Regions from separate parts of the Homo sapiens genome. Here region 1 is linked to region 2. Evidence: promoter capture Hi-C in 16 types of primary human blood cells and fetal thymus (Javierre and others, 2016). All regions are on one chromosome and are shown on one strand. Each heading gives the region's core, a stretch centred on a gene start or on the middle of the fragment in contact. The rest is flanking DNA. Distances are from core to core; before and after follow the strand shown.

What was found. The method cuts DNA at HindIII sites, captures the fragments that hold promoters and counts their contacts. A CHiCAGO score of 5 or more calls a contact.
Region 1: a fragment that was not itself captured here is called in contact with the fragment with the promoter of EIF3G in region 2 in 1 of 17 cell types (total B cells); the score reaches 5.3 in total B cells.

The regions. Positions count from the first base shown.
Region 1 is chr19:9,623,088-9,625,787 of GRCh38, reverse strand. All of the region lies in intron 1 of ZNF561-AS1 (ZNF561 antisense RNA 1), which reads right to left. Among named protein-coding and RNA genes, the nearest start is that of ZNF561-AS1, 3.0 kb to the right of the region's middle. The HindIII fragment of the contact is 3,033 bases long and covers 1-2,700 here.
Region 2 is chr19:10,118,649-10,121,348 of GRCh38, reverse strand. It overlaps EIF3G (eukaryotic translation initiation factor 3 subunit G), which reads left to right and starts at 1,450. Exons shown (of 11, transcript NM_003755.5): 1 at 1,450-1,509; 2 at 1,649-1,695; 3 at 2,178-2,261; 4 at 2,393-2,481; 5 at 2,622-2,681. The coding sequence starts at 1,490. RefSeq lists enhancers at 1,192-1,947, 1,948-2,700. The HindIII fragment of the contact is 4,736 bases long and covers 1-2,700 here.

The sequences.
Region 1 (2,700 bases), core at 43-2,542, 500 kb after region 2:
CCATTTATCTGAAATGCCACTTTTTTTTTTTAGACGGTGTTTCTCTCTTGTTGCCCTGGCTGGAATGCAATGGCACGATCTCCACTCACCCCAACCTCCGCCTCCTGGGTTCAAGCGGTTCTCCTGCCTCAGCTTCCTGAGTACCTGGGATTATAAGCATGTGCCACCATGCCCAGCTAATTTTGTATTTTTAGCAGAGACGGGGTTTCTTCATGTTGGTCAGGATGGTCTCTAACTCGTGACCTCAGGTGATCCACCCGCCTCTGCCTCCAAAAGTGCTGGAATTATAGGCATCAGCCAATGCACCCGGCTTTTTTTTTTTTTTTTTTTTTTTTTTTTGAGACAGAGTCTCGCTGTGTCGCCAGGCTGGAGTGAAATGGCGTGATCTCGGCTCACTGCAACCTCTGCCTCCCAGGTTTGAGCAATTCTCTTGCCTCAGCCACCCGAGTAGCTGGGCTTACAGGCGCCCACCACAACGCTTGGCTAATTTTTTTTTTTTTTTTTTTAGACGGAGTCTCGCTCTATCGCCAGGCTGGAGTGCAGGGGAGCGATCTTGGCTCACTGCAACCTCCGCCTCCTGGGTTCAAGCGATTCTCCTACTTCGGCCTCCTGAGTAGCTGGGATTACAGGCACCCGCCACCATGCCAGCTAATTTTTCTATTTTTAGTAGAGACGGGGTTTCACCAAGTTGGCCAGGATGGTCTCGATCTCGTGACGTCGTGATCTGCCTGCCTCAGCCTCCCAAAGTGCTGGGATTACAGGCATGAGCCAGCATGCTCGGCCATGCTTGGCTAAATTTTTTTTCTTTTTTGAGACAGAGTCTCACTCTGTTGCCCAGGCTGGAGTGCAGTGGTGCGATCTCAGCTTACTGCAACCTCCGCCTTCTGGGTTCAAGCAATTCTCCTGCCTCAGCCTCCTGAGTAGCTGAGATTACAGGCATGCATCACCACACCCAGCTAATTTTTGTATTTTTAGTAGAGATGGGATTTCACCATGTTGGTCAGACTAGTCTCGAACTCCTGACCTCATGATCCGGCTGCCTCGGCTTCCCAAAGTTCTGGGATTACAGGCATGAGCCACCGAACCCGGCTATGTTTTTGTATTTTTAATAGAGATGGGGTTTCACCATGTTGGGCAGGCTGGTTTTGAACTCCTGACCTCAAGTGATCCTCCTGCCTCAGTCTCCCAAATTGCTAGGATACAGGCATGAGCCACCGCATCTGGCAAAATACATTTATGAACCAAATTTCTACATGTTCATGGGTCTATTTTTTGATATTTTATTAGTTTCTGTTTCACGTGCTAGTACCACATAGTTTTAATTATAGAGGCTTTATAGTATGTTTTTTAAATTAATTAATTAATTAATTTTTTAGACAGAGTCTCACTCTGTCAGCCAGGCTGCAATTCAGTGGCACAATCTCGGCTCACTGCAACCTTCATCTCCCAGGCTCAAGCAACTCTCCTGCCTCAGCCTCCCAAGTAGCTGGGATTACAAGCATGTGCCACCACGCTTGCTAATTTTTGTACTTCTAGTAGAGACAGGGTTTCACCATGTTAGCCAGGCTGGTATCAAACCCCCGACTTCAGGTAATTTGCCTGCCTCGGCCTCCCAAATTGCTGGGATTACAGGCGTGAGCCACTGTGCCCGGACTTTATTTTTATTTTAAAATAATGTAATTCTTTGCCTTGCATGAAAACTGTCAATAGTATGTTTTAATATCTGCTGCTCATCATTGCTTTTGTTTTTGTTTTCTTGGTTATTATCAGATGTTTGTTCCTCCACATAAACTTCAGTATCAATGTACTTAACTCCAGAAAAAAACTTTTGGTATTTTTATTGGGAGTATGTTACATTTCTGAATAATCTTGGGGAGAATGTCTGGTATCAGTGCTATTTTACAACGTAGGAAATGTGTTCCTGGCCCATGTGGTAAGATCAGAAAAATAACAACAGAAATACATATTTTTGGCTGGGGCAGTGGCTCATGCCTGTAATCCCAGCTCTTTGGGAGGACCAGGTGGATGGATCACGAGGTCAGGACTTTGAGACCAGCTGGGTCAATATGATGAAACCATGTCTGTATTAAAAATGCAAAAATTAGTTGGGCGCAGTGGCACATGCCTGTAGTCCCAACTACTCAGGAGGCTGAGGCAGAAGAATGGCTTGAACCCAGGAGGCAGAGTTTGCAGTGAGTGAAGATCGCACCACTGCACTCCAGTCTGGGTGGCAGAGCGAAACTATGTCTCAAAAAAACAAAACAAAACAAAACATTTTTTAATTTAAATTTTTTTTATATATATATAGAGAGATGGGGTTTTGCTGTGTAGCCCAGGCTTGTCTTAAACTCCTGGCCTTAAACGATCCTACCATCTTGGCCTGGCAGATATTTTAGGCCAGGAGTTCGAGATCAGCCTGGCCAACCTGGTGAAATCGTTCTCTACTAAAAATACAAAAATTAGCTGGGCGTGGTGGCAGGCGCCTGTAATCCCAGCTACTCCAGAGGCTGAGGCAGGAGAATTGCTTGAACCTGGGAGGTGGAGGTTGCGGTGAGCTGAGATCACACCACTGCACTCCAGCCTGGTCTGATCCAGTGAGATCTGTCGCAAGCAAGCAAGCAAGCAAGAAAGAAAAAGAAAACCCAATGGAATCAGCAGGTTCTAAAAAATAAAGAATGAAGAAAAAAAGGCCTACAGAAA
Region 2 (2,700 bases), core at 201-2,700:
CAAGAGATCTGCCCATCTTGGCCTCTCAAAGTGCTGGGATTACAGGCGTGAGCCACTGCGTCCGACATTGTCAAACGTTTTTTGTTCATTATCACCCTTCTTAGGAGAAAACCCGAATTATCCTAAAATTGAATTTACATCAACTAAATTAATTTCAATTTAATTACATTTAATATCTCCCTAAAGGCAGAAACTAAATACTTAGGGATAAATGCTGTCTGATAGAGCTGGCTTTGGAAGACCACAATATCTAAGATTTTTTTCCTCCCTGAGGACCAGTTTTTTCCCCTGGGGAGTCATCATGAATCACTTCGACTGAGGACGGTTGTGCTTAGAGCAAGGAGCTGAGCAATAAACAAGTAAATGCACAAAATTATACCGGAAAGCCAAGAATGCTACAAAGAAAAGAAGAGGGAGTGGCTGAGGGGAGGCCACTTGGCATCTGAATCATTGGGATCGGGAAAGAAGACAAGGAACAGTTTAAGCAAAAGGATTGTTTTCCCCGAACTTTGGTTTCTTTTTTCTTTCTTTTTCTTTTTTTCTTTTTTAGAGACAGGGGTCTCACTATGTTGCCCAGGCTTGTCTCAAACTCCTGGCCTCAAGCCATCCCCACGCCTTGGTCTCCCAAAGTGCGGGATTACAGGCAGGCGCCACTGCACCCAGTCTGAGCCTCAGTTTCTTCAGCTGTAAAATGGAAGTAATATCCTCCTCACCATGCTTCATATACAATAAGCACTCAATAAGTGAGCTTTATGATTATTATTATTTATTTTAATTTTACTTATTTTTCTGAGACGGAGTCTCACTCTGCAGCCCCAGGCTGGAGTGCAGTGGTGCGATCTCGGCTCACTGCAGCCTCCGCCTCCTGGGTTCAAGCGATTCTCCCGCCTCAGCCTCCCGAGTAGCTGGGATTACAGGTGCCCACCACCACGCCTGGCTAATTTTTTTTTTTTTTTTTTTTTTGAGACGGTGTCTCGCTCTGTCGCCAGGCTGGAGTGCAGTGGCGCGATCTCGGCTCACTGCAACCTCCGCCTCCCGGGTTCAAGCGATTCTCCTGCCTCAGCCTCCCGAGTAGCTGGAACTGCAGGCACGCACTACCACGCCCAGTTAATTTTTGTGTTTTTAGTAGTGACGGGGTTTCGCCACGTTGGCCAAGCTGGTCTCGAACTCCTTACCTCAGGTGATCCGCCCGCCTCGACCTCCCAAAGTGCGAGGATTACAGGCTTGAGCCACCTCGCCTGGCCTATTTTAATTTTAAAGGTTAATAGGACCAGCCCTGAAATCAGCCTCTGCCCCCGCTGGCCCTACTCTGGTACCAGCAGCGCCCAGTAGCATACACAGCCGCGTGCGCCTCCACCTCCGTCCGCAGGTGTCGCTGTGGGTGCCGCGGCTGGGCCCCTCTAGGCGGCGACGGCGGCACCGGAAGTCTCGTTTTCGCCCGCTTCCGCTCTCTGGCCGGGCTTGGGCTGCGTGGAGAATACTTTTTGCGATGCCTACTGGAGACTTTGAGTGAGTCGGCGATCGCGGAAAGGGGCACGGGAAGCGGTTGGGGTGCTCTGGGAAGTATTATGGGGCCTGGGTACGCCGAGGCTGCGGGAGCCGGGCCTGGCTGACTTAATCTTCGTTCCCCACACATTTGTTTCCGCAGTTCGAAGCCCAGTTGGGCCGACCAGGTGGAGGAGGAGGGGGAGGACGGTAAGTGTACACGGTCGCCCGGGGTATTCGCGGCCAGGCCCAAGCCGTGTGACTGCCGCCTGCTTCCATCTCCCAGTCTGGCACCGTGTACCCCGTCACGGTCTGCCCCTGCCCCGCGCCATCCTCCTTGGGACCCGCCTGTTGCCAACTCCAGGTGTTCCCCGGCGGGTCCCTCTTCCTCCCATGCCACTGCCTCCCAGCTGTTCCCCTCCAGGGAGGAAGTTGTAATCTCCCGTCTCCTGTTTCTCTACTGGCGCCTGGTTGGCTTCATGGCCTGGCACCCACCTTCCTACGAGGGATCTCCCATCCTTGCCACTCCGAGTCCCCACAGGGCCATCCCAGTGCGTTGCCTGGCCAGCCCTCTGCCCTTGGCCTGCCTTTCTCCGCTTTTGCTGTAGGCGTCATCCCAAAAGCCCTTCCATCGCAGCTGGGGAGCTCCTGCCCCTGGAGCTGACTCCTCCTTCCTACGCTGCCTTTTGCAGACAAATGTGTCACCAGCGAGCTCCTCAAGGGGATCCCTCTGGCCACAGGTGACACCAGCCCAGAGCCAGAGCTACTGCCGGGAGGTGAGTGAGGACTGCCGGGAGGTGAGTGAGGACTGCCACTCGGTGTCCGGGCTGCCTCTCCCTCCAGCCCTGCCGCTCCTGATCCCCATGACCCAGGGCTCAGTCTTTCTCTGTTTTTCCCCTTCTGCCAGCTCCACTGCCGCCTCCCAAGGAGGTCATCAACGGAAACATAAAGACAGTGACAGAGTACAAGATAGATGAGGATGGCAAGAAGTTCAAGGTGAGGGTGGGGGGTGCAGGGAGTGGGGACCCTTGTGCTTGGGGGCCCATAGACCGGAATGGGGTGGGGTGTGTTGAGGAGGTTGATAAAGGAGATCCCTTGGTCCCAGGAGCCTGACCCTTCTCCCCTCCCATCCTCAGATTGTCCGCACCTTCAGGATTGAGACCCGGAAGGCTTCAAAGGCTGTCGCAAGGAGGAAGGTGAGGCTCTTCTTCCCCA